Linked DNA regions of Homo sapiens: all the other regions are linked to region 2. Evidence: promoter capture Hi-C in 16 types of primary human blood cells and fetal thymus (Javierre and others, 2016). All regions are on one chromosome and are shown on one strand. The core of a region is centred on a gene start or on the middle of the fragment in contact, and the rest is flanking DNA. Distances in the headings are between cores, read along the strand shown.

Region 1 (3,867 bases), core at 1,037-3,536, 190 kb before region 2:
AAAAAAATAGTGCTGTAAGTGACAGTCTGCCACTTCTGGGCCTAGACTTGAAGAAATCTGAAAGCTTGTTTGCAATCTTGGAAGCCAGCCACCGTGCTATGAGGAAGTCCAGCTATCCTGCTGGGGAGAGACCCCTTGGAGAGTCCTGGGGGATAAGACAGCATATGGAGAGAGAGAAAAACCACACAGGTGCACTGAGGCCCCAGACATGTGAGCAAAGCCTTCTGGGAACTTCCAGCACAGCCCAGTCACCAGCTGATTGCATGCAAGTGTTTCACCCTAGCCAGTACCCTCTGGACTGCCCAGCCTAGCCCTGCCCAAATTTCTGATCCAGAGAATCTTAAGAAAAAAGAAATATGTCTGTAGTTTTTTTATTTTATTGTATTGTGGTTTTTTTTGAAATAACAAGTTTTATGTTTTTAAAATCAGATTGACATCTAATTTCTTTTTTTCTTTTCTTTCTTAAAGATGGGGTCTTGTTATGTGGCCCAGGCTGAAGTGCAGTGGCTATTCACAGGCATGGTCATGCACACTGCAGCCTTGAACTCCTAGCCTCTAGGAATCCTCTCTCTGCGGCCTCCTGAGTAGCTGGGACTACAGGCCTGTGCCATTGCACCTGGCTTAATACTTGATTTCTAAAACTGTAGTATAGCCATCAAAAAAACAGAACACACACACACACCAGAGAAAGAAAGAGAAAACACAGCAGAAGACAGAAATATGACACTGGATTCAAAGCCTACTTACTAGCTCTGTGCTGTTGAACAAATTGCTGAATCTCCCTGAACCTCAGTTTTCTCCCCTGTGAAGTGGAACTACCATTTATTGAACATTTATATGCCAGCACGGTGCCAAGCTGCTTTTTTTTTGTTTTTTTTTTTTTGAGATGGAACTTCACTCTTGTTGCCCAGGCTGGAGTTCAGTGGTACCATCTCAGCTCACTGCAACCTCTGCCTCCCGGGTTTAAGTGATTCTCTTACCTCAGCCTTCTGAGTAGCTGGGTTACAGGCATGCATCATCATGCCCACCTAATTTTTGTATTTTTAGTAGAGATGGGGGTTTCACCATGTTGGCCAGGCTGATCTCGAACTCCTGACCTCAGGTGATCCACCCACCTCGGCCTCCCAATGTGCTGGGATTACAGGCGTGAGCCACCACGCCTGGCTGCCAAGCATTTTAAATAGAGCTATGTATTTGGTTCACATTTTAAAATCATGTACACAAAGGATCTGATTTAATAACTGAGACATGATGGCTCCTCAGTGACAGCTGCCATTATTATTGTTGTTATAAATTTCCAAGTTAAACTTTCTATAGTTTATAGGAGAGAGCCCTCCACCCTCATGCTGTTGTCTACTTATCTGTCATCCCTCTGGGACCAGATAGGGACAGGACCCAGAGTCCTGCCATTCCCAGGATATAAGGTAGCAAGTTAAAACTTGCCAGGAAGATCAAATATGTGGGATCTTTCTTTTTTTGTTGTTTTTTTGTTTTTTGTTTTTTGTTTTTGTGTCACCCAGGCTGGCGTGCAGTGGCGTGAACATGGCTCACTGCATTTTTTTACTTCCTGGGCTCAAGTGATCCTCCCACTTTAGCTCCCCCCAAGCAGCTGGGACCACAGGCACACACTAATACGCCCGATTAATTTTTGTGTTTTGGGTAGAGACAGGGTTTCACCATGTTTCCTAGGCTGCTCTTGAATTCCTAGGCTCAAGCAATCCACCGGCCTCAGCCTCCCAAAGTGCTGGGATTGCAGGCACGAGCCACTGTGCCCAGCAACATCTGGAATCTTTCCAGCACCAAAGGGAGTCAAGCGTGAGAAATAAGAATATTCACCTGTTAGAGAGCTTGTGTGCAAGACGGCTGGGTGGAAACAAAGATGATGGGAACCAGTGATAAAGGGCTACTTGCCTGGCCTAAACTCAGATATTGGCCCCTCTCTAGCCTCCTGCCTCCAAAGTTGCCCTTTGCATCCATTCACGCAGCCACAGGAGCACCCTAGCTAAAGCAGATTTAACCATTGGGCCTCAGGCTTAAAAGTCTTGATTGGCGGCCGTGCGCGGTGGCTCACACCTGTAATTCCAGCACTTTGGGAGGCCAAGATGGGTGGATCACAAGGTCAGGAATTCGAGACCAGCCTGGCCAACATGGTGAAACCCCATCTCTACTAAAAATACAAAAATTAGCTGGGCACAGTGGTGGGTGCCTGTAATCCCAGCTACTCGGGAGGCTGAGGCAGGAGAATCGCTTAAACCTGGGAGGCGGAGGTTGCAGTGAGCTGATATCGCACCATTGCACTCCAGCCTGGGTGACAGAGCAAGACTCCATGTGGGGGGGTGGGGGAAGCCTTGATTGGCTACCCTTTGTCTTCTAAACGAACACTGTGCAGACAAAGCCCTACCTTCCTCTCCGCTCTGCTATTTCCATTTGTGATCCTACAAACACACCAGTGATTTCTCGCCTTCGCTCCTTGGTCCTGTTCTTCCCCCTCCCTAAAAAAGAGCCCTGCTCTTCCTCTCTGTCCAACTCCTACTTGTCCTGCAGATTTCAACTTAGATGTCACTTTCTCCAAGAAGCCTTCCTGGGTTCCCCCAGACCCATTTAGGTTCCTCAGGGCCCTGTCCTTACCCCTATCACTGGACTGTAAGCTCACATGGACAAGTTTCATAGCTGCCCATAACAGTGTCTGGGTCACCACTGGTACTCAGGAAGTGTGTGTTGAATGGAGAAATTAACATATAAGTAACTCCTACAACACGGTGGTGCCCTTTTTCATTGACCTGTATGTCTCCTCAACTAGACCACAGGCTTCTTGAAGGCAGGAAGGTCTCAGCCAGCGTTATAGGCCTGGTGCCCAGTGCTGTGTGGACACATAGGAAGTATCCAACAAATGTTTATTGAATGTTTGCATTAACACATGAGTAGTTGATGAATGAACATTCGGATAAATGGATGGACGGACAGATTGGTAACTAAACTGGTATTTGCTTCAGTCTATGTCTTTTGGGATTATCATTTTCTGAAGAAATTGAAGAACCCAAGGCAGTTCTGCAGTGAACATAAATCCCGTCGATCAGTCCTCAAGCCCCCAGACGAAGCCACCACCACCCCTACTGGTGGCCCTAAAGAACCCTACTCCCCTCAACATCCCGTATACACACCTGGTCCTTGGGTTCTTGGCTAACCAACCAGAAGAGGAGGAGGTTGTTACAGCTGATGTTCACTTCAGGGAGGGTGTCTAGGTAAGTCTTCAGGGTGGTGGTCCCCTTGGTCTGGGGTGGGGGCTGCCTCATGGATGATGGAGCATTGGGCATCCAGGCCCCAAAGTCATGCTGTGGAGACCCCCATCCCAGTTGGGTCAGTTGGCCAGAAGGGGAGTATCACCTCCCTCTTCACCATCCCTGATTCCACCTCTGCCGTCCTAGAGGTGATAGTTGGGAAATGAGGGGATCACGGAAAGGCAAGAGAGCTGGGAAATGAGGGGATCATGGAAAGGCAAGAGAGGAAAGGGTAGGGAGTGGAAAGTCCCAGAAGTGGGGCAGGAAGCCAGCTTACTCCTTGTCACTCCCCGCCCAGTGTTCCAGGACTCGGTGGGGTGAGTCACTAGGGAAGGAGGTGGCCCCAGAGTGGAGGTAATCCTAGAAAAGGGCCTTGGGTTGCCATGCCACACAGAGCAAGCTGCTACTCCACCTGGCTGGGTTCTAACCATGAGAGGAGCCCCTAAGTTCTTCTCCCAAATTAACATCAACTTGAATCACCATTACAACCTTGGACCCAGCTCCACCCAGTCATCACCCAATGCCAACCCTTCACCCCACTCAGCTGCCACTCCAACCCCAAGTCTAATCATAAACCCACCCCAACGCT
Region 2 (3,971 bases), core at 511-3,010:
CTCCTGGGTTTAGGCCATTCTCCTGCCTCAGCCTCCGGAGTAGCTGGGACTACAGGCGCCCACCACCACGCCCGGCTAATTTTTTGTATTTTTAGTAGAGACGGGGTTTCACCGTGTTAGCCAGGATGGTCTCCATCTCCTGACCTCGTGATCCGCCCGCCTCGGCCTCCCAAAGTGCTGGGATTACTGGCGTGAGCCACCGCGCCCGGCCAACAACTAGTAATTTTCAAAGCCAGGATTTTAGTTCCAGAAAGTCTGATTCCAAAGCCCATAATCTTTTTTTTTTTTTTTTGTGAGACGTAGCCTTGCTCTGTGGCCCAGGCTGGAGTGCAGTGACCGGATCTCGGCTCACTGCAAGCTCCGCCTCCCGGGTTCATGCCATTCTCCTGCCTCAGCCTCCCGAGTAGCTGGGACTACAGGCGCCCACCACCGCACCCGGCTAATTTTTTGTATTTTTAGTAGAGACGGGGTTTCACTGTGTTAGCCAGGATGGTCTCCATCTCCTGACCTCGTGATCCGCCCGCCTTGGCCTCCCAAAGTGCTGGGATTACAGGTGTGAACCACTGCACCCGGCCCCAAAGCCCATAATCTTAATCAATACATTCAATCGTGTCCATCAGATGGGTGTGTATAGGGCAGATCAGAAGACTCCGAAGCCTACCAGCACTTTCCTGATGCCTTTCCCTGCTTGCAGTGGGGCAGCACTCTGCCACCTATGCCCTTGGGAAAGAACAGCTCCTATCCTACAACGAGGATCTGCCCTGAAGGTCCCAGGCAAGAGCCCTCTTCTTACCATGTAGATGGGGCTCCCCAAGTAGGCTCCCATGACCCCAGCCATGGCCCCAGCTGCTGCGCTGCGGGCAGGACTGTGGGTGCCTTCGGCTGTGTGCAGGTAGCCCCCAGCCTCAGCCAGCCCATAGGTGCCCAGTCGGATGCCATTCATCAGGAACTGGTACAAGAGGGCGGGGGCCAGGCCTTTCTGCAGGGCAGCAAGGCCATCCACCTTGCCGATGGTGATGAAGGCATGGAAGACATTTCGGTAGTGCCGCTGGTATGTGCCAGGGGCCTGCAGTTCTCCTTGCAACTGCATCCTGGTCTTCACCACCTCCAGGGGATTGGTGAATACACAGGCCCCGCAGGCTGCCAGGCCACTCATCAAGAAGTCCATGGTGGGATAGCTGTAGCAGGAACTGACCCAAGAGTAAGAAAGTAAAAATGGGTGTCAGAAAGCGGGGTTGGAAGACAGGGGGAAGGCCTGTTTCAGCAGTACAGGTTGCAGAAGATAAGAATTTAGATTTGCAGTCAAGGGTGTCAGGGTCAAATGTCAAGTGGTCAAACGTCAGCTGGAATTTGGGAGTCAAGAGCTGGCAAGCAGGGAAGAGATAGAAATCTAGGAGATTCTGGTGAGAAGCTTAAGGCAGGACCCTCTGAGGTCAAGGAGGGGCAAAAGACAGAAGGTTGCAGGTGGGATGGCTCAGGATGGCGGGCGACGGGAGCACGGGAGTAGAGGAGGGAATCGCGGGGTTGGGAGATGGAAGCCAGGGAGGCAGGAAGAAGAAAGCCAGCAAGTGAGAGAAGAAAAGGATCCGGGAGAAGAGCCGGTGATTTCCTCGAGCCAGCAACGAGATCTCGATCCGAGAAAGAAGTCAGGACTCTGGCCAGGAATGAGCGTCCCTGAGCGTCCCCAGGCAGCCACCGGAGCTCGCAGTAGCTTCAACCCCGGGTAGCCTGCGGAGGCCGGGCCGCCACACTCCTGCCACTGGAGCGCGGGGCCAATGGGGAGCCTTCAAGAGCCACAACCGAGGCCCTCAGCCAATCAGCGCCGAGCCGGCTCCGCGGCCAAAGGGAGGAGCTCTCGGCGCTCCTGTCCCCGGAATCACCCGGAGGCGGTTGGAATTAACTGTCCAGGCTCCGCCACCAGCGCTCGGCCGCCGACTCCGGCTCCGGAAGGGAGGCCCGGGACGCGGCGGTTTTGTTATTGGCAGGGAAGAGACCTGGGTTCCCGATCGAACACAGAGGCCGAGCGCAGCAGTCCCCCACTGGGGTGCTGGGACCGCCCCTCGGGTGGGCGGACGGCTTTAGCTTCCTACCCCGGGTTGTGACCGGGTGGGGTCACATAAGTTCAGGTCCACGCCCTGCTCGGTGCCGGCGCCAGGAGAGCCAGGAAGACGCGGCCCGGCTTGCGGGGGGTAGAGGGACACACTTGCGCTGCGGGACCAGTCTCCTGAGGCTGCACGGGTTGGTGCTTGGTTAATTAAATCCTTAGTCCTTAGGCTCTTTATTTTTATTTTTTATTTTTTTTGAGACGGAGTCTCGCTCTGTCGCCCAGGCTGGAGTGCAGTGGCGCGATCTTAGCTCACTGAGAGCTCCGCCTCCCGGGTTCACGCCATTCTCCTGCCTCAGCCTCCCAAGTAGCTGGGACTACAGGTGCCCGCCACCACGCCCGGCTTATTTTTTGTATTTTTAATAGAGACCACCGTGTTAGCCAGGATGGTCTCGATCTCCTGACCTCGTGATCCACCCGCCTCAGCCTCCCAAAGTGCTGGGATTACAGGCGTGAGCCACCATCCCTGGCCTGGAGTTCTTTCATATGAGATATTTGTCTCTACTCCTCCATTATTTATTCAACCATTTATTTAATCAGTATGGACTCATGGACATTTATACTTTGGGTTATAATCCAATATACTTCATATTTATTTTCTAGCTAATTTCGTTCTAGCTTTGGCCTTTGAGAGCTGTTTCCGTTGGCTCCTGTGTCTCTTTAGCATACCCCCATCCATTTTTTTTTGCACACAAAAGTTTTTAGTTTATAAATCTTGTGAAAAATCCACAGTGGCCACAGATGTTACTGTAGCATCTTTACTCCTTTGGCTTTTTGCCACACCAACACTGTCCTTTGCAGTCCCCCTTTCTTCATTCTGGTCTTGTGTTCCTTTCATTGCTTTCTTGAGTTCTTTTCTTCTCATCCAGGCCATGTCTTGGAAGTCAGCATTTGGGTTTATTTTTCTTTGCATAATCCAGTGAATCATAAATCATGCCAAAGCCAGTTGTCTTGCCACCACCAAAATGAGTTCTGAATCCAAATACAAAGATGAGGCCAGGCGTGGTGGCTCACGCCTGTAATCCCAGCACTTTGGGAGGCAGAGGCAGGCAGATCACATGAGGTCAGGAGTTTGAGACCAGCCTGGCCAACATTGTGAAACCCTGTCTCTGCTAAAACTACAAAAATTAGCCGGGTGTGGTGGCAGGCACCTGTAATCCCAGCTACTCGGGAGGCTGAGGCAGGAGAATCACTTGAACCCAGGAGGCAGAGGTTGCAGTGAGCCGAGATTGCGCCACTACACTCCAGCCTGGGTGACAGACGGAGACTCCATCTCATAAAGACAAACAAAAACAAACAAAGATGATGACATCTAGTGTAGTCTCATACATTTTGGCTAGTTTTTCCTGAATTTCTGTCTTAGGTACTGTTGTCTTCCCAGGGTGAAGGACCTCAATAACCATTTGTTCCTCCTGAAGTATGTAGTCAGTTGATCATGAACTTCCTAGTTCAGATAGTTACTAAGTCATTCATGATGGCGGTCAATCCTCAACCAGGGAGAAAAATAAGAGTCCCATCAGTGTTGTTGTCATCATTGGTATTTTAATTAAAACCTTGTTTTTATTTAGTGTCACCTTACTTTCTGGTACTATAAAATGCTCCAGGCTCATTTTGTGTATTTCCTGCCACAGTCCTGCAATCAGCCATTTCTCCAAGGACCCCTATTTTCTTTTATTGGCAAATGGTTTTAGAATCCAAGATCTGGGCCCTAGGTGTGCTTGTTGCTTTTGAGGTATCATTGCTTCTGGACCCTCACATCTGAGAAAGCAAGGAAATATATGTGTGTATACTAACCCACGTATATACACAAACATGTATTTCCATATATAACCATCCATATCTATATTAAGCTAAGCATGAATTCATA
Region 3 (4,178 bases), core at 795-3,294, 180 kb before region 2:
GAACTCACTCTGGAGAAGTGCAGAGGGAGGCTGTGGAAAGCAAAGTGCTTCCTATGTGTATGAGAGAAGGGTGCCTGCCTATATGAGTGTATGTGTCTATGTGAGTCTCCAGAAGAGTCAATACCGTCTGCAAAACCCTCGCATTTCAGGGCTTGAGAGGCTCCCTTTTTTCAGAAAACATCTACTTGGGAGCCCAGAGTTTCTGACCTCAATCTTATTCCCTATACTCTGGGGCTCTGTGAGACCCCACTCCTAATCCCAAAGGACACCTTCTGCAGTACAGTGTAGTCCTCGTCTCTGGCCCACCTGTTCCTGGCCTCAGCTCCACGGTGCAGTAGCCTTCAATCCACTGATAGCAGGGGAAGTGGGATACACTACCATCCGGTTCGGTGACACAGATGCGGCTACAGTACCAAGAGTCCTTGCGGAAGAAAGCGTAGCGCTCCTTGTGTACACGCAGCAGCAAGAGCTCACCCAGCTCCGCTGTGCAACGCACCTTGTACTTCTGTACCTGAGGGGACCAAGACAGCAAGCAGGTGAGAGGCGGGGAACTGCCAAGGCGGTCCTTGCGCCTTGCAAGATGCATCTACACCTAAGCCTATTCGGGCATACAAACCTGAGCTGCTCCCAGCCCATACCGGGCTTTTGTATGAATTAGAAAAAGCTTCCCCGGGCCGGGAGAGGTGGCTCACGCCTGTAATCCTAACACTTTGGGAGGCCGAGGCGGGTGGATCACCTGAGGTCAGGAGTTTGAGACCAGCCTGCCCGATGAAACCGCTTCTCTACTAAAAATACAAAAAATTAGTCGGGCGTCGTGGCAGGCGCCTGTAATCCCAGCTACTTGGGAGGCTGAGGCAGGAGAATCGCTTAAACCCGGGAGGTGGAGGTTGCAGTGACCTGAGATCACACCACTGCCCTCCAGCCTGGGCAACAAGAGCAAAACTCCATCTCAAAAAGAAAAGAAAAAGGTGCCCGAGCACAGTGGGCACTGCATTTCACTAGCTTCCTAGGCCGGCTGGGAACTCTTGTGGAGGCCACCTGGGGCTGGCAGAGGCAGGCAGATCCCCTCGATAAGAGGAAACCCAGGCTCAGAGAGGGGAAGCGACTTGCCCAAAGCCCACGGTCAATTATGGGAGGAGTTTAGGAGCCAGGGGAAGTCCCTCTACTCCCTGTCCAACGCTCCTTCCTCTCCACAGTCCTGCCTGGATGGAGTTCATCATCTCCAGGAAAGACAGGGACCTCAATAGGGAAGGTGAGGAGGTCAGGGCCGGTATCCTGAGTTCAGCAGGATCTCAAGAGTCCAGGAGGAATACTCCTCCCGCCTGCGGCCCCTGCCCCTCTGAGGTCGCGCTTCCCTGTCTCCTTTGTACTCACCGATCCAGGGGCGAAGTCCCTGCCCATTCGATCTAGCCGCTGCTTGGGGCTTTCACCACACGTGCCCACCAGTGTGACAGAGATGTTGTCCAGTGTGCCGGCCCTCAGGTAGGGACCAGTGGTCACACACAGGCGGTACACTGCCATGATGGGAAGGAGGAAGGGATGCCCCGGCAACGCTGGCCGCAGCAGCAGCCGGCCTGGAGGAGAAGAGCGGCACGCCGGACAGGGCTGGGTTTCTGGGCGGAGGGCTAGGGGCTGCGGGGCTGGGTAGGGCTGAGGATGGGCCCAGCTCTCTCTGGGATGTTCCTGGGCTTTCTCTCTCCGAAGCTCCCTGCTGGCGGCTCGGGCTTCCTCTCTCCGCCCACAGTCTTGCACTCTAATACTTGTTTGCTTGCCTCTGACACAGCCGGTCCCTCTGGCTGGCTCACCCAGATGGATATCAGGAGCCTGGGTTCCACTGCGGAGGGAGGGATCAGATGCTGAGATGGAGAAAAGGAGGTAACGCCTGTATAATTGGGACACTGCCCTCCGCCTGGTCAGCGGCCCGGACTGATGCCCTGGAGTGCTTGTCCGCCCACTCCCCAATGTCCCCCAAGATCTGTTCCTCCCCATTCCCAGGCAGAGATGAGCACAGGGCACCTGCATTCCTACGTGTGAATCATCCGTGTGAATCACTAAACAGTGGAGAGTTGCACTTGGTCATAAATCACACGTGACTGCAGCCACACGCAGGTGAGTCGCACACGCATTCCAGCACATGTCAAATGGTCAGGAACAGCTCCCTGTCACCCCATACACCGATCCCCCCACGCATGGCCCTCTTTGTCCCCAGCCTTTGGCACGCCCGACCTCATTCTCTGCTCTGGAGTAGGGCAGGTCAGGAAAGCGAAATACAGCGCCGGCAAACAGGGTCTGAATGCCCCGCGTGGCATTCTTTCCGCTCCAGGACCGCCCTGGGCCTGCAGGATCCTGGGCGGGAGCCCAGGTGTCCGGGATCTGGGCCACTAGGGACTGGGGAGGAACCTCTCAGAGAAGCCCATAGCCCGCAGCGGCCCCGCGCGGCCGGTTCCGGCGCCGCACTGTTCCAGCCTCTACTATGGTACAGTCCCTGCGTCGCAGCCTCGGCGGGGGCTCTAAGAACGGGAGGCAGAAAAAGCTCAATCAGCAGCAGGCGAGCTTCACCCGCTGCTTCCAAATCTGTGCCAAAATATTCTATGCTGCACAGATAAAATCCTCTGTCGGTTCTACAAGCCTGGCTTTTCCTATAGAGAACCCTCTTATAAGCAAAAAGTAAAGCTCTCGTGAAGAGCCCGGATAGCTCAGTCGGTAGAGCATCAGACTTTTAATCTGAGGGTCCAGGGTTCAAGTCCCTGTTCGGGCGGCATGTCTTTGCTTTTGGGTACCGCACTTCGCATAAAATGGTAACAAAAATAGTTACTAGTTTTTAAAGCTAGGTGATACAGAAACTTGATTTCCACAAAATACAGCAAACGACGGTGGAGGGTAATAAACATACTTTAAAACAGTACAAACGCGAGCCGTATTATCGAATTTACATTTTCTGGTAGCCACATTACAAAGAATAAAAAGCAAGCGAAATTAATTTCACGGATCTATTTTACTTACCCTAATATACCAAAATCTTATTTTAACATATAATCAACATTCTAAAAATATTAATGAAATTTTAAGTCTTTTTGTTTGTACAAAGCCTTCCTTCAAAAGAAGATGTGTATTTAGAAGCTGGCAATACATCTGAATTCATATATTTCAAGTGCTCGATAACGGTGTCTACCATATCCAACAGCAGACTTTGTTTTGTTTTCGTTTTAAGTGACGGGTGTGGAAGACACGCAAAATAGAATGTCCAGTAATGTACACAATCTTGAAAGACACCACGAGGGAGGTTCCATGGTGTAATGGTTAGCACTCTGGACTCTGAATCCAGCGATCCGAGTTCAAATCTCGGTGGAACCTTGAAGCTTTTCTTTTAATATCAGCATGTTGAATATTGTTAATTGATTTTCACAGAGGGGATACTCCTATGACCCAAGATAATACGACAAAAAAAAAAAGTAAACTAGGACACTACCAATTATTTGTGCTTTTCCTACCGGATAATTGAGTCCTATAACACAGTGTTAAGAGAACGTACAATAAATTATTTAAATATGTTGGAAGTTGAGCTAACATTTGAAAACATGTTAAAATAGAGATGTTATGAAGAAACGAAATAATAGAGATGTTATGAAGAAACGAAATATTGCTTCAGCAGTTACCATCAGGTCTTAGCTTCTGGGATGGATGCAGGCCTATGATCTCTCTGGAAGACCAAACACGGAAGATGATGGTGAAACCATTACCAGGGGAATTCGTAAAATTACTTTCTGCATGTAAATAGGTGTAACCTCACAGAACTGTTAACAGAACTGTAGCAGGTGCGTAATCCACCAGAAAAACTCCAGCCTGGCAGCGGTGGGATTCGAACCCACGCCTCCGAAGAGACTGGAGCCTAAATCCAGCGCCTTAGACCGCTCGGCCACGCTACCTGCACGAAAACTTACTGTCCCCGTTGTCCTCCTAAGAGACTAGAAGTAAGGAATGGGGCAAATCTTAAGAGTGCCAAATTGATTCGTCTCCTTTTCCACATCTTTTAGACTGGAAATGAAGAACCATCGAGACTGTGGACCGCATAGCAGCAGATGGCAGAACAGATAAACGAGAAGAGACAAAAACACACAGAAATTTACAACAAAACTAGTTTATTTGGGTGGGACTATATCTGGGAGTGGGGAGCGCCT

What was found. The method cuts DNA at HindIII sites, captures the fragments that hold promoters and counts their contacts. A CHiCAGO score of 5 or more calls a contact.
Region 1: a contact is called between a fragment that was not itself captured here and the fragment with the promoter of SLC25A35 in region 2, in 2 of 17 cell types (activated CD4 T cells and naive CD8 T cells). The highest score is 8.2, in activated CD4 T cells.
Region 3: the fragment with the promoter of ALOXE3 here is called in contact with the fragment with the promoter of SLC25A35 in region 2 in 14 of 17 cell types (non-activated CD4 T cells, fetal thymus, activated CD4 T cells and 11 more); the score reaches 19.2 in non-activated CD4 T cells.

The regions. Positions count from the first base shown.
Region 1 is chr17:8,100,162-8,104,028 of GRCh38, forward strand. It overlaps ALOXE3 (arachidonate epidermal lipoxygenase 3), which reads right to left. Exons shown (of 16, transcript NM_021628.3): 15 at 3,162-3,332. Among named protein-coding and RNA genes, the nearest start is that of MIR4314, 14 kb to the left of the region's middle. The HindIII fragment of the contact is 4,448 bases long and covers 63-3,867 here.
Region 2 is chr17:8,293,640-8,297,610 of GRCh38, forward strand. SLC25A35 (solute carrier family 25 member 35) reads right to left here and starts at 1,761. Exons shown (of 5, transcript NM_001320870.2): 1 at 794-1,761. The coding sequence starts at 1,168. RefSeq lists enhancers at 1,481-1,560, 1,581-1,630, 2,251-2,380. The HindIII fragment of the contact is 5,205 bases long and covers 1,410-3,971 here.
Region 3 is chr17:8,116,470-8,120,647 of GRCh38, forward strand. It overlaps ALOXE3 (arachidonate epidermal lipoxygenase 3), which reads right to left and starts at 2,045. Exons shown (of 16, transcript NM_021628.3): 1 at 2,017-2,045; 2 at 1,375-1,834; 3 at 307-511. The coding sequence starts at 1,521. TRK-TTT3-5 (tRNA-Lys (anticodon TTT) 3-5) reads left to right here and starts at 2,686; the gene lies at 2,686-2,758. TRQ-CTG1-5 (tRNA-Gln (anticodon CTG) 1-5) reads left to right here and starts at 3,283; the gene lies at 3,283-3,354. It overlaps HES7 (hes family bHLH transcription factor 7), which reads right to left. Exons shown (of 4, transcript NM_001165967.2): 4 at 4,123-4,178. It also overlaps TRL-TAG1-1. RefSeq lists enhancers at 1,211-2,410, 2,132-2,211, 2,292-2,361, 2,512-2,611 and silencers at 3,132-3,181, 3,312-3,401, 3,772-3,981. The HindIII fragment of the contact is 2,695 bases long and covers 663-3,357 here.